Linked DNA regions of Homo sapiens: regions 1, 2, 4, 5 and 6 are each linked to region 3. The links are contacts of gene promoters, found by promoter capture Hi-C in blood cells and fetal thymus (Javierre and others, 2016). All regions are on one chromosome and are shown on one strand. The core of a region is centred on a gene start or on the middle of the fragment in contact, and the rest is flanking DNA. Distances in the headings are between cores, read along the strand shown.

Region 1 (3,982 bases), core at 1,185-3,684, 330 kb after region 3:
AGGCTTTGGTCTCAACTGCCTTGTTTCACATTCTCACTATGCCAGTCCCCAGCTGGGTGATGATGAGTAAGTTACTTAGCCTCTCTGGGCACTGGCTTCCTTACTTATTAAATGTAGATAATATTAGGTTGGTGCAAAGTAACTGCAGCTTTTCCCATTAAAAGTAATAATATCTCACTTATAAAATTATTTTGAGAATTTAAAATCATGCACGGTCCCTGTGAATATGCTACAAACCGCTGATTTATACAACTTAAAATGGTAATTTTATGGTATGTGACTAATATTTCAAAAAAAAAAAGTAAGCATGGTGTCTGGCCCAGATCTTTGAAAATAAAACGATGCTAATTATTGTTATGAACAAGGTTTCCCAAGGCCCTGTCACTGGGCCAGGCACACAGCAGATGCTCAGTAAACACTCCTGGAATGAATGGAGAACATATTCCACAAGCATGCTTTGAGCATTGTTTATGCCAGGTATGTGGGGGATGGGGAACATAGAGATTCCGAGTTCAGTTTTGCATCCTCAGGAAGGGAAGACAGAATTATTCTCCTTGGAGTGGGGCCTCCTGACCCAGCTGTGCCTGGCTGTCAGGGGAATTAACAGCCTCTGTCCCTTGCTGCCTGTTCCAGGAGGCAGAACCCAGTCCAGCTGATTCTGAGCCATGGGGAAATTGTAACAGGCAGAGGAATGTGTTCTTGTATTTATCTTTGACTGACAGTATCTGATGTTCCAGGAATTGACTTCAAACAGAATCCGGAGGAGCCCCTTATGGTCCCGCTGCCACAAACAAGGCCCAGAGAGCGCAACTCTGCCCAGCCCAGCACCAGGTTTTTGGCCTCCCCGCCGGCCCGAGGCACATCGGCTTCGATGTGCCAGGCGGTGGGCGAGGAAGTGGAGGTTCCAGCTCGGCAAAGCTTAGGCTGAGGCTGAGGATGGGCTAGAGTCAAGTCTACGTGTGCAGCCTTACTCAGGGAGACGCCTCTGCGCTGCAACCTCATGCCCGGGAGGGCAAGGCTGGGCTAGGGCGGGGGATCGCGAGGGGCTTGGCTGGGAAGAGGACTGCAGGAGAGGTGTCCCAACTCTCCCCTCGCTCGCCAGGCACACAGCACGCGCCTACTCGGTGCTGGCTGCATAGAAGCCCAGGGAGCTCGGGCCGATCTCCCAGTCTGGTTGCCACCAGACTGGGTGGCAGGAGCTTCTAGACCTGGAGGCTGGCTCAGTCGTGTGGTCACGACGGGCGGGGGAGTGGAAGGGCGCTGGCGCGTGGTTTCGGCAGCCGACTTGGCGAGGCCGCGGCTGGCGGGAACCACGGATGGGGGAGGCGCCCATGCACCGACCCCACCTGGGCCACTGGGAAACCGAGGTAGTCCCTCCTGGCACTGGGGTCGCCCCCACACACCTCCCCAGAAGGAGATGTAGGGTCTGTTTCTGAACTGAGACCCGCCCCCGAGTAGGGCGCACACTCAGCAGAGACCCTCCACACCCAAGCCCCTGGGAGGGGATCTTTTTTGCACACCTCCCTCCCACTTATGCCCCCTCTCAACCCTGCATAGACCTTTCTCAAAAAGGCGCCCGTTGGTTCCCATAACCCTCCCCCTCCCCCAGGATGGAGACCCCTGATGGGAGATAGGGGTGGTGAGAGGGGGCGGGCGCAAATGAAGATGCGCGCGACCAGGACCACCTCTTGCTGTCACCCGCCACGTCCCCAGCATCTGGACCGCGTCCCCCGGCCCGCCACGCGCGCACACACACACACACGCGCACACACACACGCTCACACTCACCCTGCGCGCAGACCCCGCCCGCGGCCCCGCCCCGGCCCCTGCGGGCGCCCCCTCTGGCGTTCCCGGGCGGCGGGAGGCTGCGGCTTCGGGCAGATTTGATTTTCCCGCAGCCCGGGCGCCCCGGAGCCGAAGCCCGAGCCGAGGAGGTGGCGCTCGCAGCCGCGTCTCAGCCCCGTCGCCGCCGGCGCCAAGACCCAGGGAGAGGCGGCGCAGCCCGGGCGCTCGGGCTCCGCGCTGCCGGCGCCCCGCCACCCCCGCCGCCAGCGCCCCATCCGGCGCCTCCCGCTCCTCACGCCCCTCTCCCTGTCTTCTGCATCCCCTCTACCTCTGCCCACAGACGCGCGTCCCTCTCCTGGTGCCCCTCTCCACGACTCCGCGTTTCCCTCCCGGTGCCCTCTCCCCGAGCCCCTCTCCCCGCGCCCCTCTCTGCCTTCCCCGCTGTGCCCCCGCTCCCTGGGCTCCTTGCCCTTCCCCACTGGGCCCCTAGCCTCCTCGCGGCGTCACCCGAGCCCCCTCCTCGATCCGCGGCCCCCGCTCCCTCCGCCCTCTTCCCTCTCTCACTTCCCACGCCCCCTCTTCGCGCTCCTCTCTCCTCCCCTTGCCGCCCAGCCCAGGCTCTGGAGTTGGGGGAGAGCCCAGGGCTCCAGTCGCTCCGGAGGAGGCGTGAATCGCGCAGGGATTGACTAATTTGGGGTGGGGGGTGCGGTGGGCGATGGAGCAGCCTGAGGACATGGCGTCGCTGAGCGAGTTCGACTCCTTGGCGGGCAGCATCCCGGCCACCAAGGTGGAGATCACCGTGTCCTGCAGGTGAGCCTCCCGCTGGCCGGGTCCCCTTGCCCCGGCCCTGGACGCAGAGCCCCGCGGCCCCTGCCGCTTCGATCCTAAACCTCCGCGCGCCCCCTTCCCAGAGTGTCCTGGTCTCCAGGACTGCGCCCCTGCCGATCTGCCAAGAGCCCCTGTCCTGTCCAGCTGCGGGTGGCGACGGCAGAATAGGAAGCCAGGCTGGGGTCATATCCCAGAAAGTTTGCGCTCCAGGCTGTTGCATCGAGGAGATATGAAGACACAGGAACAGGGGGTCCAGGCACCCAAGTGGGGAGAGGGAGTTGGTAAAAGGCTGTACTACGGTCTCTGCTCAGGCTATCTCTGATCACCCCATCCCCAAATCACGAAGTGAGTGATTTGCCCCCATCCCTCCCAGGCTCGTCCACCCTCTCCCTTCTGTGCCCTCCTCTCTTCTCTCTTTGCCCCTTCTTTGCCCCAGCATCCTGATCCTCCCCTCACCAGTCTCCCCCACCCCACTGTCCTAGACTCTAGGATTTTAAAGCCTTCCTTCATCTCTATCAACAACGAAATCGACTCCTGGAAAAGGATCAGATTGACTCATTCATACTAAGGTGTGGATACATGATAACAACTTAAAGTGGCACCATTAAAAAAATAACTTGGGTCAAAAATCTTAAGCCAAAGGAATAGAACACTGATTGTGAAACTGTAGAGTCCAACAGAGGAGGAGGGGGAATATTTTTGTGGGCTACCACGCCCAAATCTTCACTCATGTCACACAGGGTTTGGGGGTAACTTCTCTGTCTAAGAGCTGGGTCGACCCCAGGTTCTCCTAGCTAGGGGAAGGCTGCCCCTGGCAGTAAGAGGGTATGGGTGGCAAAGGGGGATTTTTCCCTAGTTCAGTCTCTCTGTGGCTGGCCTAGGATCATGTGCTGCCACGCAAGCATCACCCACTTTGAGGTTCCCCCACAGAGGCCATGCCCCCTGCCCCAGATCACCGACAGCATTTCTGGAGCCCTGGCTGTGCCCTTGTTCGAAATCACCCATCTCATCCTCTTCCAGGTTGCTCCTTGGTCAGACCCTCCATGAGAGGTAACCTTGTTGCCCCCCAGTCCTGTATTACAAAGTTGTGGCATTGATGAGGTGTAGGTAGAGCTGGAGAGTCTGGGCAGGGGCGTGAAGGAGGGAAGGACTCAGTGTGACTTTCTCTTGAAGACTTGGGGATAAGTGGCAGTGAAGGCTAGTCTGGTTGAACGTAGCTTCCCCCCTAAGCCAGGCCCTCTGGGGGCTCCTGTGATAGCTCCCAGGTCCCATACACCATGCCGTCAGGATCATCTCCCAACGCCATTTGCATCTTGTCATTACTCTGCTGGGAGATTCCTGATGGCCCATTAGCTCCAGTCTCACCTCC
Region 2 (3,910 bases), core at 1,113-3,612, 410 kb after region 3:
GTGGGAAGAGATACTGAAAGATGCTCCCACCGCAGCTGAGATCCACTGACCTACAGGGTGAAGTTCCAAGCTCTTTCATTTGGGATGCTGTTTCCCCAGCCAGCCACCCGCAATCTGTGTATGCGTGCTTTTTTTTTTTTTTTAAGATGGAGTCTCATTCTCACCCAGGCTGGAGTGCAGTGGCACAATCTCGGCTTACTGCAACCTCCACCTCTACTTCCAGGCTCTAGCTATCCTCCCACCTCAGTCTCCCAAGTAGCTGGGACCACAGGCACACACCACCACCCTGGCGATTTTTTTTTTTTTTTGCATTTTTGGTAGAGATGGGTTTTTGCCATGTTGCCCAGTCTGGCCTCCAACTCCTGAGCTCAGGTGATGCACCCGCCTCGGCCTTGCAAAGTGCTGGGATTTCAGGTGTGAGCCACCACGCCTGGCTGTGCATGTAAATAAAAACACACATCACATGCCTTTGGAGGCCCCTAGGAGCTGGCCCCTGCCCCTTCCCTCTGCCCATTCCCACATTCATCCCCGTCCTGCCACCTGAGGCTCTCTGAACCTCCGTGCTGTCTCAGCCTCCAGGGCTCGATTCATATGGGTGCCTCCACCTGAGACTCCCTCTTGTCTTCTCCTGGGTAGGAGCTATTGGTCCACGGAGCCTCCCTGTGGGTGTTCCTCCTCCAGGAAGTTGTGTCCACCTGCACACCCGCCCCACCCCAGAGCCTGGAGTGGACACTTGTCAGTGCTCCTGGGGTTCCTTCTGGCTATTTTCTGTTTTGTGACACTATTCAACCCCTCAAAGACCTTGAAGTCCTCAGGGTGGGGGTTGTGTTGCACTTACTGCTGCATCCCCAGAGCCAGCACAGCTCCTGGCCCCTAGGAGCCCCTCAGTGCCCCCACCCACCCCACCTAATGTGCGCAGGAGGGCAGATTCCAGACCTGTCCTGTCCCCGCCTGACCACCAAGAAGAAGGGAGGTGACTTAGTGGAGGGGCAGCTCCTCGGCTGGCCCCTAGGTGGCGCTGGCCCCCTGCATGGGATTCACCGTGGCGGGGCTGGAGAGGCTGAGGCTGGGAGCATGAAACCTCAGGGTAAACAGGGATCTGAGAACAGAACATTGCTTTAACATTAAAGCAGTTATATCAGAGAGTGGAAATGTGGAATACAGGCTAATTTAAAGATAACATAGAAAGCTTAGAAGAAACATGCTTGTGGCCAAATCTTTGGTTACTCTCAGGACTCCGGGTTCATTCTCCCCAGCTGGGAGGGCTATGTTGGAGCAAAAGTTTGAGATGCTGTCCATTCCGATAGTTCAACACCCTCAAGGGAGAGATTGGGAAACTGAGGCACAGTGCAGCACTGGGGCTGCCATTTTGCCCTCATCTTAACAGCTTGCCTACTTAAGCTGTTTTCCCATGAATGTGTCCGTGAGCACCTCACCATCTGGGTAACCCCGTGGAGGGGGCGTCCTCCAGTGCTAAAGAGGGTGCTCTGGTCTTCTCTCCCGGGCTCTCTCACCATCTCGCCCAGGCCCTCAGTTTCTACCTGCACAGCTTGCCAGACCTCCCACGTGAACTTCCCACCTGTGCCCCAAATCCAGCGCCTTCCTTCTGTGTCTACCTGGTCACCCCAACCCCTCCCTCTCTCGAACCTCTATAGCCACGCCCAGGGCCCAAGAGGCGTGGTCACTTCTTGACAGCGCTGTTCTCACCATAGCTCAGCACCTGTCCCAATACCCCCAAGTCCTCATGACCTCTCGCATGGACTTATGGTGGCAGTAATAATAGTAGTAGTAATTTTGAAAAATAGCAACTAAGGCTGGGTGCAGTGGCTCACGCCTGTAATCCCAACACTCTGGGAGACTGAGGCAGGAGGATTGCTTGAGCCCAAGAGTTTGAGACCAGCCAGAGTAACATAGCGAGATCCTATCTCTACCAAAAAAAAAAAAATAGCCAGACATGGTGGCAGCTACCTGGAAGGATTGCTTGAGCCCGGGAGGTTGAGGCCACAGTGAGCTATGACCCCACCACTGCACTCCAGCCTGGGCCATAGAGCAAGACCCCGTCTTAGAAAAAAGCAACAGACACGTATAGATAATACTTACTACATTCCAAACTGTTCTAGGCACTTTGCTTGCATTGGCCCATTTAATCCTCATACCTTTCCGGGAGGCAGGTACTTCTTATTCCCATTTTAGAGATGAGGAGACTGAGGCACATTGAGGTTAAGTAACCTGCCTAAGGTCACACAGCTATTATTAGGTGGCAGAACTAGGCAAATATTTCCTGGATGAGCCTCCTCCTCCCCTCACACTCACCTCCACCAGGCCCCAGTGTCCTAGAGCCTGCTCTGATTTTGTCTCCTACCAGCTTGGGGGTCATCAGAGTTCCCTGCAGGCCGCTGGGTGACATTCAGACATTTTTCACTGGGCATTCTAGGCTCTCCTCCAACCAGCCCAGCTTACTCTTCCACCCTGTGGTTCTGCCATCAAACTGGGCCTGGGTTCTATTCATTTCTCCCACAGAACCTCCTCTGACATCCATCTCTCCGTGCCCAGAGCCTTCCTGTGCCTCTAAGTCTGCCTTCAAGACTTCCTGCTCCAGAGAGGCTTTGCTGACACTCTCACCTAGAGTGGTCTTTCCTTCCTCTAACTCCCCTGACACTTCTGTGATCCCCCTTGTTCCATGGCCCTTGTCACTTTTTGCCCTGAGGACATATCTTCTCTCTCCAACATAGGTGATAGATGATTCCAGGGGAGAAGCAATATATGTCTCCACCCACCCCATAAATGTATGTCAAAGAGATCTGTTTGTATCTGTTATCAAGGTGGCACCAATGTATGCACCACTGGCCCGGGGGCAGGAAACCTGGTTTCTAATCCTGTCACTACCCAGATGGCTGTGTGACTTTAGGCAAATCACCTGGTGTCGCTGTGCTTTAGTTTCCTTCTTGCTGGAAGTAGATAGCAATACTCACCCAGACAGAAGAGACCACGGTAAAGATCAGCTGACGGCCTCTGTGGGAACAAAGACAGGGAAAGGGGAAATGAGTTCACCAGAAACCAACAGGCAGCACAGGAGGTATGAAAATTGCCTGGCTTTGTTTGATGGGACATTAGGGAAAAGTTGTGCCTAGACTTCCCTTATTAAAAACAAAACAAAGAAAAACTGGCGAGGGTCAAATGAGAATACAAATACAGTAAGTGCGGAAGTCTCGTGGGGGGCCTCAGGGCTGGGTGGCTCTCGTCACTTTGCCCAGTCTTGGCCTTGGCACTACTGGGATTTGGGACTGCATCACTCCCTGCCGTGGGAGGCTGTCTTGTGTACTGTAGGATGTTTAGCAGCATGCCTGGCCTCTACTCACCCCCTCAGTTGTGGAAACCAAAACCGTCTCCAGATGTTACCAAACGTTCCTGGGGGTAAAATCGCCCCTGGTTGAGACCGCTGAGTTAGCCACCAACAAGCCTTCTCTGAGCACCTACTCTGAGCCTAGCCCCATGATTTATCTGACACAGGTCTGGTTTGGAAGTTAAAGCTTACACTCAAAGAATAGCTAAAGAGGTTCTTGCTGCCAAGTAAGAGGGATGGTGATGGAGAGGGGAGCCTCAGAGGCCCTGGGCAGCCCTTGGGCTGGGTCCCAAAGGAGGAACAGGGGAGATTGGAATTGGCTGAGAGAGGAAGGGGGTGCATTTTTGGTGAGGGGAGCAGCCTCAACCAACACAAGGGACAGGTACAGATAGGGCCGCTTTGCAACATCAAGACTTCTTTGGCTATACTGGGTGGAGGGTGCGTGTGTTCCGGGGAACAGTGGGAGAGAAGGTTAAATAAATATTCCCGGTTGATCGTGGGACCCTGGGTCTGATGGGAGAACCCAGTTGTGTAACCCAGACTCAATACCAGTCTCCCACAAATCCT
Region 3 (3,748 bases), core at 479-2,978:
TAAAATAAAACAAAAATTACAAAACCGGCATCAATTTCCACCTCTTCCCCCGCCCCCATCCTTTTACTGGCGGGGAAACTGGGTCAGACTTTAGAAAAATCTGGGCTACCGCCGGTTGCCCACAACCTCTTATTCATCGGGAAAGCCTGGAACTAACTGAATTCCACTTGAAGAATAAAATCATGCCAGAAACATTACAGGTTCAGCTGGCTGAAAATCCCCGGCTTTACTACGCTGGGAGGCTCTCCTGCGTCCCACCCCGGCTAGCATCGAGCCAGGCGGCCCAATGACCTTTACAAAAGGCTGGCGCGGGAGACTGGCCGAGGCCTCCGGACTGGGCCGGGCCGGGCCGAGTCACCTGGGCAGCTCCCTCCCGGGCCTGGCTCACCATCGAAGTCCGTGTAGACGGTGTCCTTGAGCAGCGCCCCCGACCCGAAGTCGATGAGCTTGAGCTCGCCGCGATTGAGGTCGATAAGGATGTTTTCGTCCTTGATGTCGCGGTGGAGCACCCCGCAGTTGTGGCAGTGCCGCACGGCCTCCAGCACCTGCCAGAAGAAGCTGCGGGCCAGCTCCTCTTGCAGGGCTCCCCTTTCCGTGATGAAGTCGAAGAGATCTTGCACCGGCTCGGGCCTCTCCAGGATCAGGACGAAACTGTCGGGCCTCTCGAACCAGTCCAGGAGCCTAATGACGCCGGAGAAACCCGAGCTCACCTTCTTCAGCAGGACCACTTCCATGGGCACTCGAGTGCCATTAGGCTGCAGGGGCGAGGGGGCCGCGTTAGGGCGGGAGTCGGGGGCGCCCCTCACCCCACCCACTCATCCTGGGGGTCGCTCCTGCAGGGCACTCACCAGCTCTCCCCAGTCGGAAATCCGGTCCTTCTCCACGTGTTTGATGGCCACCTGGAAGCCCAGGGTCTCCGTCAGGTTCCCTCGTCCGGGCTAAAGCACGCCCGTGCGCCCCCCGCCCGGCGCGCCCTCCCCACCGCGGGGCGCCCACTCACCGGCAAGTTGTCGGAGACGCGGATGCCTGAGTAGACCGAGCCGAAGCCGCCGCTGCCCAGTAGCGGGCCCACCTGGTACTGCGACTCCAGGGGCTCCTTCTCCTTGCCTAGGAAAGGGGGAAGCACGGGGACTCAGTGCCGGCCCGCGAGCCGCCAGCTCCCCACCCAGGAGATCCCGCCGCCGCCCCGCATCCCCGGGCCGGAGGCGGGGGGTGCTCTCACCGGGCGCCAGCTTGGTGGCGTGCAGGTCGTTGCAGGGCGCGGCGCGCAGGTGGGCAAGCGAGTTGATTTTGGACAAGAGCATCCCAACCTCCAGGATGTCGGCGCAGGGACGGTGCCCAGAGGAGCTGCCGCAGGAGCCGGAGCCGGGGCTGTGCCGAAGGCTATGCCTGGGGCTGTGGCTGTGGCTGTGGCTGCGGGTGGCGTTGCGGCTGTGGCTGCGGCTGGCGCGGAAGGCCGAGGGCGAGTCGGAGGACAACTGAGGGCGCTGCCGGGACTGGCGGCGGGAGGGCGCGCCAGCGGGGTCGGGCAGCGCTGAGAACGGCGGGGTGAGCGGCTCGTGGGGCTCGTGCGGCAGCGCCGCGGGGCAGGAGGCTAGTGGTTGCTGCTGCTGCTGCTGCTGCTGCTGCTGCCGGTCCCGCCGCCGCCGCTGCCACCGACTCCTCTCGGGCCTCCTCAGCCACCGCGGCCGCTGCAGCAGACGCCCGGCTCGCCCCGCAGCCAGGAGTAAAGGGGAGGAGCGCGCCGGCGGGGAGGGCGCGCGGGGAGGGCGCGGCGGGCGGGGACGGGGCGGGGCCTCTCCGGGAGGCCAAGGCGGGGAGCAGGGCTGCCGGGCCGGCCGAGGGAGGAGAGGGGGTGGGGAAGCGGCGGGACTGGGCGACTCCCCTCGGCCCCCGCCCCGCGCGCTCTGTGGCCGCGCCCCGGCCCCGCCCCTGCCAGCGCTACTCCAGCCAACCAGAGGCCGATTGATCTGCATAACTCGGCGCGCCCCGCCCCCGCCCCGCCCAGCTCTCGCGGTCAGAATGGTCTCTACGCCGCCACGACGTGGCGGGAAGGAAAAGGCGCCAAAATGGAGGGGGAGGGGCGCGGGGCGTGAGGGGAGGCGGGAGCTGGGTGTAGGGCCGCGAGGGAGGAAGGATGGGGAGGGGCGTATCGATTCAAACCCAAACAATAACAAAGCCATCAAAGGCCGCCCGAGGCCGGCTCTGCGGCTCTCCGTTTCGCTGAGGGTTTTGGGTCAAGGGCTCGAGCCGGAGCATAACAAGTTGCGCGGAGACGACGGGCGTTAGTGTGTCAGGCGGGGAGGCCGGCGCGCCGGGTGTCGGACTGTGTGTGGGGATGCCGACGAGGGTGGTCTTTCTGTGTGACTCAGACCCGAGACCTCCAAGTCGGCTGGGGCGGGCTGACGTCGCGCTGTAGGCTGGGGGCGGATTCTGGGGGTTTGTGTGTTGGGGGGCGCGTCGGGGGCGAAGGATCCGCAGGACATGAGTCACGGAGGGAGTGGAGGAGTCAGGCCTGGAACAGAACTGGAGGCGGGAGCCCCGCTCCTGCGGGAAAGGGATGCAGCCCTCAGTCGTTCCGGCCGGCTAAAAGCTCAGCCACGGGATTCCCATTTTAGAAATGCAAAAGCACCAGCGAATCCTGATTTCTGGGAAGGGATGTGTGTCAAAGGGCCGGGTAAAGAGGAAATCACGAAGCAAATGTTAGTGTTGTGATGCCAGATGCTGCCTCAGCCCCTTCTGTGAGGGCGGAAAATTCCTCATCTAAAACGAGGGTGGGAGGGTGCGCTTGATTTAACCAGTTTTCACGTTGTAGTCACCTTTTCATCAGCCTGTTATTACCAGGCAGGCAATACCAGCAATTATTGGCCAACCCCAAGTCTTGTCTCAAAGGAAACCCCCCACCCTCTGCCTCCCTTGGAAATAACCCGGAACACTGACCAATTCCACTTGCATCCTTTGTCCTTTTAAACTTCATGTAGAGTTGATAACGACGTGTGAAATGAGTAAATTAAAATACTATATAATCCATAAATTGAATTGTCAGTGGCCTAAGTAATTGAAAGCTAACTACATTCTATTTTAATTTTTTGAAGTGCCTGCCATTTAAAGGAAAAATCAGGATCCCTATAGCTGTCATTAGTGAATTTAAATGTTTCCTTTGAAAGTTTTCTACAGTGCTTGCTTTATAAAAGTGCCCAGATCCTCCACAACTTTTATGAATTTATCCTACAAAATATTACATATTTTCCTTTTGTTTGTGTACTGTGGCCGAACTCATTCATTTTTTATGACTAGGAGAAAACCCAAGGGAACAAGAATTACTCCCTTTTTGCAGATAGGAAAATGAAACATAAATAGGATGGCACAGGGTCATACAGCAGCTAAGAGAGGAGATGAAATGACCCAAATTCACCTCCTGAGTATTCAAAGCTTTCCGCTTATCAGGGTCTAAAACTGTCCTTGGCACCGAACAAGACATCATTAAACATATGTGATTCCCACTTCCATCCCTTCTACCCTCCCTTTCCTTTCTCAAACCCTCAAATGTAGTCAAACAGAACTATTCCCACTTGTTCCCACTCGCCTAGCACTTTACAGACCCTTTGCCTTTGCGGAAGCAATCAACCTGTCCTGGGAGAGCCCTCTCTACCTCTCCACTTTTATTCAAAGCCTTTCCACTCTTTAGGAAACAATTGTAGTTCTACCACAGATTGATGAACAAACTCAGAGCATTGGTTCACTGTCC
Region 4 (3,645 bases), core at 998-3,497, 280 kb after region 3:
GTTAAGAGAAATGTAAACTTCTCTTTTGCCCTGTTTAACAGAGAACTAATTCCTCTATAGAGATAAGTAAGTCCTGAACACTGATATGCCATTACCCTGGACGTTCTGTTTTCTGAAGAGCTATGCCAGCGAGGTAACTCTAGGATAGAAAACTGATTCATCTAGTTAAAGCACAAAAGGGGAAACAGTACAGTTCAAAAGAAAGTTTCAAAAGTCCATCAAGATACATCCCAATCTTCAACACTAGGAGCTATATCCAGAGTAAATTAAATTTTCTTTTTTCTCTACTTGGCTCTTTAATATTACACTACCCATGAAGTATGGTATCCATTCTTTAGTGTTATGAATATATTCCATTCTATTTTATCCAGTGATCCCATTAATTAAATATATGTTCTAGTAAAGAAAAAGTGCTCCTTCAACCATTGTGGAAGACAGTGTGGTGATTCCTCAAGGATCTAGAACTAGAAATACCATTTGACCCAGCCATCCCATTACTGGGTATATACCCAAAGGATTATAAATCATGCTGCTATAAAGACACATGCACACATATGTTTATTGTGGCACTATTCACAAATAGCAAAGACTTGGAACCAACCCAAATGTCCATCAATGATAGACTGGATTAAGAAAATGTGGCACATATACACCATGGAATACTATGCAGCCACAAAAAAGGATGAGTTCATGTCCTTTATAGGGACATGGATGAAGCTGGAAACCATCATTTTGAGCAAACTATCGCAAGGACAGAAAACCAAACACCGTATGTTCTCACTCATAGGTGGGAATTGAATAATGAGAACACTTGGACACAGGAAGGGCAACATCACACACTGGGGCCTGTAGTGGGGTAGGGGAGTGGGGAGGGATAGCATTAGGAGATATACCTAATGTAAATGACGAGTTAATAGGTGCAGCACACCAACATGGCACACATATACATATGTAACAAACCTACACGTTGTGCACATGTACCCTAAAACTTAAAGTATAATAATAATAAAAAGAAAAAGTGCTTCTTAGATTATAATAAGAACCACTACAAAGAAACAAACATCAATTAAAAGGAAAAATAACTGATAAAACATTGAAATGATTAATACGATTTAAAAGAGTAATAACTTAAAACTACAATAAATGCTTAAAATTTACAATCAAGGTACAGGCAGGGCACAGTGGCTCACACTTGTAATCCCAAAACTTTGGGAGGTTGAGGCGGGTGGATCACTTGGGGCCAGGAGCTGGAGATCAGCCTGGCCAACATAACATAGCAAAACCCTGTCTCTACTAAAAATACAAAAATTAGCCAGGCATGGTGACGCATGCCTATAATCCCAGCTACTCGGGAGGCTGAGGCATGAGAATCACTTGAACCTGGGAGGTGGAGGTTGCAGTGAGCAGAGATCACATCATGGCACCCCAGCCTGAGCAACAGACTGAGACTCTGTGTCAAAAGAATAAAATTTTTTTTTTAAATGTAGTATATACATACAATGGAATATTATTCAGCCTTAAAAAAGAAAGAAATCCTGCTATTTGTAACAATACGGATGGACCTGGAGGACATTATGCTAAGTGAAATAAGCCAGACACAGAAAGATAAATACTACATGATACCACTTGTGCGATTAATCTAAAATAGCTAAACTCATAGAAGCAAAGAACAGAATGGTGGTTGCAGGAGGCTGCAGGCAGGGGGAAACAGGGAGGTACTGGGCAAAGAATACAAAGTTTCAGTTATACAAGATGAATAACTCCTAGAGACCTACTATACAGCACAGTGCCCAGAGTTAACAATACTGTATTGTATATTTAAAAATATGCTAAGAAGGTAGGTCTTATGTTAAGTGTTCTTATTGCTAATAGTAATAATAAGTAAGAAGGCAGGAGGAAACTTGAAGGTGATGGATAGGTTGATGGCATGGATCATGGTGATGGTTTCACAAGGGCATACTTATGTCCAAATTCATCAAGCTGTACACATTAAATGTGTAAAGCTTTTTGTACAAAAATAGTACAATGAACACCTGGATATCCTTCATTTAGATTTACCAGTTGTTTACATTTGGCTATATTTTCTTTCTGTTTTTACCAGAACTACTTGAAAGTTATTTGCAACACATTATAAAATCATTTCTAAATATTTCAACATGCATCTCCTAAGAATAACGACGTTATTCTACACACAACCATTGGCATTATTGCCATACCCATTAAAATGAGTAATCTCTTAATATTACCTAATATTCAGTCTATAGTCAAGTTTCCTTAACTATCAAATTTTTTTAAAAAGATCATATAGCTATTTAAAAATCCAGGATCCAACCAATGACCACACATTGAATTTGGCTGCCATGCCTCTCTTTAATCTACTTAACTTCAGAACAAGTCCCCAGTGTGTGGTTTTTCTTTTTTTTTTTGTTTTTGTTTTTTGGTCTTTTAGGACATTGACATACTTGAAGAAGTCTTCACATTTTTAAGCTTACCTCTACTTGCTTCCATCCTCACCCTTTCCAGTTTCTACTATCAGAAAAATGCCATAATAGTTCCTTTCTAAGTTTCTGGTACTCTCTCCCTCCCTCCCTTCAGAGGAAAGCTCCTTTGGGGGTTGGGGGGAGAAAGTAACACACTTTCTTGTTTCTCAGGTTTCCATTCATTTATTAACCTGTTGAAATCATATTTCTGCCTCCTCACTCCACCGACATTGCTTTCACTGAGGCCACAAATGGCTTTCTAAACGCCAAGTTCGAAGGACGTTTTTTTCAGTTATTACCTTATCTGACCTCTCTGCAGCAGCTGCTGTTGCTACCCCATTATCTATCTCCCTCAAGTGTACTCAAACCTTAACATAATTCTCTCGTTCTCTGCTGGTATCCACCAGTTATCCTTGACCTTCTTATTCCCTCCAACACTTTGACCACCAGCTATTGGTGATTCCCAAATCTCTTCTCCAGTCTACAACTCTCTCTAGGGTTCAAGACCCATTTATCTACCTGCCTACCAGACACGGTGATCCAAGTTTCCCATAGCTCCCTGTATGTAATGTGTCTATAACCCAACTTACTGTTTTCCCCTTCAACTCATTCCTCCCACTGCACCTCTTTTCTTAATGGAAACACTAATCCTCCAAATTTAAAAACTATTCTCCTCCTACCTCACTCCCACCAATGAAACTATCACTAAGTCCTCTTGATTCAGCCTCCTATATAATTCTCACATTCATCCCTTCCTCTCTACATTAACAGCACAGTTAAGGTCTTCAACATCTCTCCTATGGACCATCACAAAGATGTAGTTAATCTCTATACTTCCAGTTCTCCTCTTCCCCAATCCATTCTCTACCTTGTCCAGTTTTTTATTTTTATTTTCTGAGACAGGGTCTCACTCTTCGCTCAGGCTGGAGTGCAGTGACATGATCTCAGCTCACTGCAACCTCTGTCTCCTGGCTTCAAGAGATTCTCGTGCCTCAGCCTCTGGAGTAGCTGGGAGTACAGGCACGCGCCACCACACTCAGCTAATTTTTGTATTTTTCTGGTAAAAAATGGGTTTCACCATGTTGGCCAGGCTGGTCTTGAACTCCTGACCTCAAGTGATCCACCCACCTTAGCCTCCCAAAGTGCTAGGATTACAAGCGTGAGC
Region 5 (3,666 bases), core at 563-3,062, 310 kb after region 3:
GTTGTAGTTGCTGAGTTCTTTAAAGGTGAGCGGGATTGGGTACGTGGTGGTAGGATAGTCATGGACAGCTTATTCACACAGTGTCTTAGGGAAGGGAGGTGGGTAGAGGTGTAGGAAGGGAAGGGGCTTTGGTGGTGAGAGCATGTGAAAGTTCTCTTCTGATAATTCCTTCTTCTCAGTGAAATAAGAAGCAAGGTTCTCCTCAAAGAGTGAGCAGCAGCGAGGGAGTGGTGGAAATTTGAGGACAGAGGAACTGAATAAACCCAGGCAGGCTGCCTCCCGAGGTGGCACTTTGAATCATGACCAGCAGCTTCTCAGAGAAAATGCTCGGGTTACCTCAGTTAAAGGGGCTCTTCATCACTGACACTACTGTGTGTTTGCCTCATGTTACACACCAGATAGCTTCCATATGCTGTCTCATTTAATTCTCATAACAAGCCTGTGAGACATAGGTGTTACTGCTACTCCCATTTTGCAGACAGGGGAACTGAGGCTTGGAGAGAAAGTGTCTTGATTAAGGTTAAACAGTAATTGGTGGGGTCAGAACTGGAATCCAGACGTCTCTGACCCCAAAGGCAAGTGAGAAAGAGAAGACAGCATCTTCAGAACCACAAAGCCCCTTGGAGGACTGTGGCATTGTTCCCGTCTGGTATATTAACAAAGTGTTTGTGTCAGGTAGCACTGCTTTTGGCTACAAGTAACAGAAAACCTAATCCCACGGGCTGTTTTTTCTTACACAACAGAACGTCTGGAAGTGAGCAGTTATTGTCATCTCTTCACCAGCCCAGAAGAGTTGTCAGGGATCTAGGCTTGCCATATCTTTCCCCACTTCATTCGTAATGTGTTGGCCTTTGGTCTTGAACTTGTTAGTCTTATGGTTGCAAGATGGCTGCTGCTGTTCTGGCATCACCCTACTTTCAAAGAAGGAAGATGGGAAAGAGCTGTAGATGAAGGACAAAAGAGTATGTCTGTTTTTATCAGGAAAGCTGTAGCTTTCTCAGAAGCTTGACTCAGCGACTTCTGTTTGTATCAGTAAGTCACAACTGGGTCATCTGGCCACGCCTGTCTGCAAAATGGACTTGTCAGCACCTGCCTTTTTTGTCTCTGAGGTTGAGGCAGGCTGTGGAGGAGGAGGCTGGGGATGCTCAGGAGACTACTGACGGACAGTGTCTGTTAGAGGCACTCTTGCCAGAAGAGAGGCTTTGATTGGTCAGTTGCCCTCTGGTGTCAGGTGCCCCACTGGCTCTCCTTATAGGCCACTGCCCATCTGTGGGGCTGGATATTAATCTATTGTCCCATCAACTGTGGGGTGGGAGGGGCGGGGACAAGTAGCACCAAGTGTGGTCATCTTGGTGTAAGACACTGCATGTCCCATGCCTTAGACATCATTTTGACAGGTTTCCACAGTGACTAAGAGGAGGAGGAAGGGACATCACAGGAGTCACAGGGATGAGAAAAGGGTTTTTTGTGTTTTGTTTTTAAGAAACAACACAGGCCAGGCACAGTGGCTCACACCTGTAATCCCAGCACTTTGGGAAGCCGAGGTAGGCAGATCACCTGAGGTCAGGAGTTTGAGGCCAGCCTGACCGACATGGAGAAATCCCGTCTCTACTAAAAATACAAAATTAGCCAGGCATGGTGGCGCATGCCTGTAATCCCAGCTACTCGGGAGGCTGAGGCAGGAGAATTGCTTAAACCTGGGAGGCGGAGGTTGCGGTGAGCCAAGATGGCACCATTGCACTCCAGCCTGGGCCACAAGAGCGAAACTCTGTCTCAGAAAAAAAAAAGGAATTAAAAAAAAAAAAAAACACAGATCATAAAGAAGAAGGTTAAGAAATGTTAACTGCAAAGGTTCTGTTCATTGGAAGATCCCATTACAAGAGTGAAAAAAGTTAACTGGGAGAAGGTATTTGCAAAACATTCACTGACAGAGGATTAGTATCTATAGTATATAGTTGAGCCTTTACCAACATGGGTTTGAACCATGGAGGTCCATACAGTTTTCTCAGAGCCCACAGCGGGACTTGAGCGAGCAGGGATTTTGGTGTCACAGGGATCCTGGAACCAATCCCCTGAGTATACCAAGGGATGACTGTATGTATCAATTCCAAAATGTCATACCACTGAGTGGCCGTTCACAGAGGGGACAAGCTAAATAAGCCAGTAAACATGAAATTATGCCAAACTTCAGAGAAATGCAGTTTAAAACACCACAAGAGGTCTCACACTTCTCAGACTGACAGAAGGACCTAGAGCAGTAAGAGTGAGAGTGCTGCGGGGTGGGGTGCATGTTGGTTCATCCTTTTCAATAAGGCACTTAGAAAAATCTAGCAATGATGAAATACTCAAACTATGACCCTGTGTATCCCCTGTGAGGTATTGGCCCCCGAGAGCTCTTGCACTTGGATTTCGGAGACAGTATAAGAATAGTTTTTATAGCATGGTCGATAATAACCAAAACATTGGAAAGATCCTCAGTATCAACACCAGAAAAGATAAGACAGAGCATTATGGTCATACAGTGAGGTGAACACTACAGAGACCTGCCTGGAACAAAGTAGATGAGTCTCTCAAACAGTGTTGAGAATATATAAAGTGTAATACCACTTATGTAAGCTTAAAAACATGCAAAACAACAATACTTTTTTTTTTTAGGGGTACATAGATGTGTAGTAAAAAAGCTTAAAAACATGCAAAACAGCAATACTTTTTTTTTTTTTTTTTTAGGGATACATATATGTGTAGTAAAAAAGAAAATGCATGGAAATGCCAAATTCTTGTCAGAATAGTGGTTACCTGAGAGGAAAATGTGATTCTTTGAATCAGCTGTTAGCTCTCAGGAGAATGAGTGGTGGGGAGAGATGCAGTGGGGTGTATGCATGGGGTCTTAGCTGGATTTGCAATAGTTTATTTCTTGGGGGCGGAGGTGGTCATAGATATTGGTCATATTATTCTTTGTATGTTTGCGTGTCTGAAATAAATACATTGAATAAATGATCCCAAGAGAGGACAGAGGACAGAAGAGGAAAAGAATCTCTTTTTTTTTGGAGACAGACAGGAGTGCAATGGCGCAATCACAGCTCACTCTAGCCTCGACCTACTGGGCTTGAGTGATCCTCTCACCTCAGCCACCTGAGTAGCTGTAGCTGGGACTGCAGGCACGCACAACCACGCCTGGCTAATTTTTGTAGAGACGAGTTTCACCATGTTGCTTAGGCTGGTCTCAACTCCTGGGCTTAAGAGATCCGCCCCCTTCAGCCTCCCAAAGTGTTGGGATTATAGGTGTGAGCCACTTGTACCTGGCCAGAAAAGAATCTTGAAGGTTCTTTTCTAACCTGTAATCAAAGGTTAGAAAACAGGTCTTGGCCGGGTGTGGTGGCTCACACCTGTAATCCCAGCACTTTGGGAGGCCGAGCCTGGCAGATCATGAGGTCAAGATTGAGACCATCCTGGGCAACATGGTGAAACCCCATCTCTACTAAAAATACAAAAATTAGCTGGGCATGGTGGCGGGCGCCTGTAGTCCCAGCTACTCAGGAGGCTGAGGCAGGAAAATCACTTGAACCCGGGAGGCAGAAGTTGCAGTGAGCCGAGATCGCACCACTGCACTCCAGCCTGGTGATAGAGTGAGATTCTGTCTCAAAACACACACACACACACACACAC
Region 6 (3,663 bases), core at 550-3,049, 260 kb after region 3:
CAGATATTTTAAACATTTTTTAAAGGTATGACAGAGAAGAGAAATCCTACATATAAAAGTTCAATAAAGCTTATAACTTGTATTTCAAGTTTTCACTATGATTTGGAATGATTTCACTGTTGGAGATGTCAAAAACAGTCTCTCAGACAAAACACAGCCTTGAAGTCAACGTGCAGAGACCATAACTATCCACCCTTCTTTACAAGTTGGGCACTGGGCAGAAAAATGGATGGGCCAGCGTCTCACCCATCAGGGAGCTTCCTGGTGCCTGAGAGTTATTTACAAGAAAACTCACTTAGGCTGGTTCTCTGTAGACAACCATAACATATCCTGGAATTCTGAGTGGGGAGAGTACTGTTACATAGATTATTTACCTGGCAAAAACAAAACAAAACAAAACAAAACAAAACAAAACAAAAGATTTCTTTCCAGGACAAAAAACTCCCTCTGGATAAAAAGGATAGGGAAGAAAGAAAAGAACAAAGCCAATACTAGCTCTACAAGAGCAGTGGTTTTGTCTGTTTTGTTCACTGCTTTGTTGAGAACAGTGCCTGGCATATATAGCAGGGTCTCAATAAACATTTACTGAATGAGTGAATGAAGTTGGGGAGAGGGAGGAAGGGATGGAAGGAGGAAAAGAAGGAGGGAGGAAGGCAGGAAGGCAGGCAGGAAGGCTGATTTTTCAGAAGCTTTAACAATAGAATTAAGTCCATGGGGAGAAAAATCAAATGAGCAATCTGGATTCACAGAAACCTCAAAATAAAGATTAAATAAATATAACTTCATCATTTCTTGCATTATAAATATAGCCAAGAAAACCCTGCAAAGCCCATGACAAAGTTCCCATGACTTTCACTAGTGTGTGCTCAATATTTAATCAGGCTGCTCTCCAGAAGCTTGTTTGTGCATAGCACCTCTTCTAGTACCCCGGGCATGAGGCAGGGGTGAAGCCTTGACAATGAAGGAGGCTTCTGCCAGGTCCCTGCATGTGTGGCACCATGCCCAGAGCCATTTTCACACACCGTAGAGGGAAAGAGCCCAAGAAATCATTTCACCAACAGCCTTGCCTCCAGGAAGCAATGCATTTGAACCACTCCAAACCACAGAGAAAGTCTATTTTCATGAGTTCTCACTTGTACAAAAATTTGTTTCTAAATGTGAAAATTTATTATCAAAAACACAGCAAAAGAAAAAATTAAAAATAAATAAATGTGAGACTTCAGATAAGTCAGTCAATCCCCTTGCACATCAGTTTCCTCATCTTTGAAATGAACATAAAAACAGTATCTACCTTATGTGACTGCTGTGAAGACTGAGAAATAAACTGCACGGCACAGTACCTGGTATACAGTAAGTGCTTGACAGAGCTGTTATTATCACAGAAGGTAAGCTTATTTTGCAAATAAAAGAGGAAGGTTTTCCTTGCGGTCTAAGCAGTTCATCTTTGAGCACAGATCTGGACTCTCTAAGTCTTACTAGATTCTTAGTTTGAGGCCAATAAATGATTTGCTATTTCCAAAACTTCTTGATGTTGCTGGATCTACTTCATCCTTCCTTTGAAGGTTACGGGATGCATCGAGTTCCAAATGTGTGCCTTTTCACTGTATGTGAGAACTATCCCAGGCTTCCTCAGTAGAAATGAATATGTTATTTTTAAGTTGGCCAGAAAATGACCAAAGTAAAAAAAATAATTGGCTGAACATGCTAGCGCCTGGCTTGACTGAGGGCAGAGATGGCAGGCTGTAAGTGTGATATCTTGGACAGAATGCTAGAGGGAGTTAAGAAACTAGGGTTCAAGTGTGATTTTGCCACTTTTAGCTGGGTAAGCAAGCTCCTTTACCTCTCCTGGCCTCAGTTACCTCTTTTATAAAATGGGGTATGTACTAGATTAACTCTAAAATTCTTTTCTGGCTTTAAGACTCAATGATTCCATGGAAATGGTAAAAACCAAGGGGATGGCCGGCAGGAGTAAAGTGACTATAAAGATATGAAGCCAGGAGGGGAGAAAAGCAGTAAGAATGTGAATGTAAAGAGAAAACTCTGGGTCAGTAAGAGGAAGGATTAAGTCAGTCAAATATTATCCATAAGGGTGCAGACTAGGGAGGATGAACTGGGCTGAATGTCAGGGTGCAGACTAGGGAGGATGAACTGGGCTGAATGTCTAAGACAACACCAGGTCGGGAAAATTCTAAAGGGTCAGAAGCTTGGAAGACCACTTATCTTTGGAACAGCCAGAAAGAATATTGTCTCTTCAGGGACTAGGGAGTTAAGAGAAAGTAACTGATGATCCGAGAGAGACAGTGGTAGAACTCCAACATCAGACTTAAAGCTAGACTCTTCAGGTCTACTGCACAGCTACAGACTACTCACATCAGAGGCGAAGGGCTCAGACTCTGAAGACTGGCTGCCTGGGTTCAAATCATGGCTCCGTGACCAGACCTGGGACCTTGAGCAAGTGACCTAACCATACTGTGCCTCAGTGTCCTCATCTGTAAAATGGGCATAAAACCTGAAGCTACCCTATAGGGATGTTGTCAAGATTAAATAAGCCGATATATGGAAAGCCCCCTGAACAGGGTCTGGCATCTGGTAAGTAATAAACAACTGTCAGTTTATTTACTTATTTTTTGCTGCAGAGCGGGATGTTTCCATGACTCGCTGCAAAGTCACTTCATTCTTCTTATTGAGAGCATTTAGGGGCAGGATTTCCTATCTAAGGCTGAAATCTAGAAAAAGAACCCCACCTCTGTCACCTTTTTGTTCCCTGGGTGGGGTCAGGGGAAACTTCCAGTCATTGGTGGTGGTGCCTCTTGTACATCACCAAGGCTGCAGCTGCCCTCCATCATTCCCGAGGTGCCACTGCAAGGAGCACCAGATGACCCTGGGAGTGTGAGACAGGCCAGCACTTCAGGAAACCATATGGGGTTTCCTTTCGGGAATCTGTCACACCATTCTCCCCTTGCATTTACTTTAAATGTATGGCCAACTAATCCTAACCTGAAGGTAGTTGTTTTTTGATACCAGGACATTAAAAAATGATATATTTTTACTTTTCCTGCCCTCTTACAGGCCCAGATTAAGTTGCACTTAATTCTCCCTCATGTGTTTCTGTTTACTCTTCATATAATTACGTGTTTTTAACTTTTCTTCCAAATGCTACGCAAAATGCTGTTAGTTTCACATGTCTACAGCTTCCCAGAATTATCATACATAGGAAAATATGGTGCTTCCACATCCACATTTACAAGTAAAAACAGCACTTTAATAGAATCAACAACATTAAAGAGCTAAAGCCACACCCTTCCAATGCTCACTCGCTCTCTCTACAACTGAGCTCCAAGGACTCATTTTATTTCCATCTGCAAGGCAAAATATTGATTTGAAGTAGTCCAAATAATCCAGCTTGTTTACAAGACACTAATGTTTCTGGAATGTTTAAACTATGATTTAGAGAAGAAGCGAGCAGTGTTCATTGACGATGCCCCATTTCTCAGTTCAACCGTGTATGGAGATTTACTTTATAGGACTGGGGAAGAAGATAATGCCATCAACCAGGTCAGGAAAACTCATCAGGAGTTGCCGTTAGGGAGGCTTTGAGGGGAAGACAGTCAGGAAAGGAGACTGGTGTGTCTGAGGAAGAGGCACAGACTGGCCTAACTGACA

The links. Contacts are between HindIII fragments. The CHiCAGO score rates a contact against its expected background, and 5 or more counts as called.
Region 1: a contact is called between the fragment with the promoter of CPNE5 here and the fragment with the promoter of PIM1 in region 3, in 6 of 17 cell types (fetal thymus, monocytes, endothelial precursors and 3 more). The highest score is 15.2, in fetal thymus.
Region 2: a fragment that was not itself captured here is called in contact with the fragment with the promoter of PIM1 in region 3 in 3 of 17 cell types (activated CD4 T cells, total B cells and M0 macrophages); the score reaches 6.3 in activated CD4 T cells.
Region 4: a fragment that was not itself captured here is called in contact with the fragment with the promoter of PIM1 in region 3 in 6 of 17 cell types (naive CD4 T cells, total CD8 T cells, fetal thymus and 3 more); the score reaches 7.8 in naive CD4 T cells.
Region 5: a contact is called between a fragment that was not itself captured here and the fragment with the promoter of PIM1 in region 3, in 2 of 17 cell types (erythroblasts and total CD8 T cells). The highest score is 7.3, in erythroblasts.
Region 6: a contact is called between a fragment that was not itself captured here and the fragment with the promoter of PIM1 in region 3, in 1 of 17 cell types (endothelial precursors). The highest score is 5.4, in endothelial precursors.

The regions. Positions count from the first base shown.
Region 1 is chr6:36,837,896-36,841,877 of GRCh38, reverse strand. It overlaps CPNE5 (copine 5), which reads left to right and starts at 2,434. Exons shown (of 21, transcript NM_020939.2): 1 at 2,434-2,595. The coding sequence starts at 2,501. RefSeq lists an enhancer at 526-1,076 and a silencer at 1,761-1,970. The HindIII fragment of the contact is 11,867 bases long and covers 921-3,982 here.
Region 2 is chr6:36,756,451-36,760,360 of GRCh38, reverse strand. All of the region lies in intron 12 of CPNE5 (copine 5), which reads left to right. Among named protein-coding and RNA genes, the nearest start is that of RAB44, 61 kb to the right of the region's middle. RefSeq lists enhancers at 121-1,089, 925-1,114, 3,800-3,910. The HindIII fragment of the contact is 2,341 bases long and covers 1,192-3,532 here.
Region 3 is chr6:37,168,132-37,171,879 of GRCh38, reverse strand. PIM1 (Pim-1 proto-oncogene, serine/threonine kinase) reads right to left here and starts at 1,728. Exons shown (of 6, transcript NM_002648.4): 1 at 1,223-1,728; 2 at 1,001-1,107; 3 at 849-899; 4 at 389-755. The coding sequence starts at 1,304. RefSeq lists silencers at 900-1,219, 1,480-2,259 and an enhancer at 1,885-2,483. The HindIII fragment of the contact is 5,698 bases long and covers 1-3,434 here.
Region 4 is chr6:36,888,364-36,892,008 of GRCh38, reverse strand. All of the region lies in intron 1 of C6orf89 (chromosome 6 open reading frame 89), which reads right to left. Among named protein-coding and RNA genes, the nearest start is that of C6orf89, 4.2 kb to the right of the region's middle. The HindIII fragment of the contact is 484 bases long and covers 2,006-2,489 here.
Region 5 is chr6:36,859,823-36,863,488 of GRCh38, reverse strand. All of the region lies in intron 2 of PPIL1 (peptidylprolyl isomerase like 1), which reads left to right. Among named protein-coding and RNA genes, the nearest start is that of PPIL1, 13 kb to the left of the region's middle. RefSeq lists an enhancer at 3,159-3,660. The HindIII fragment of the contact is 1,612 bases long and covers 1,007-2,618 here.
Region 6 is chr6:36,904,032-36,907,694 of GRCh38, reverse strand. The region is part of intron 4 of C6orf89 (chromosome 6 open reading frame 89); the gene reads right to left. Among named protein-coding and RNA genes, the nearest start is that of C6orf89, 20 kb to the right of the region's middle. The HindIII fragment of the contact is 813 bases long and covers 1,393-2,205 here.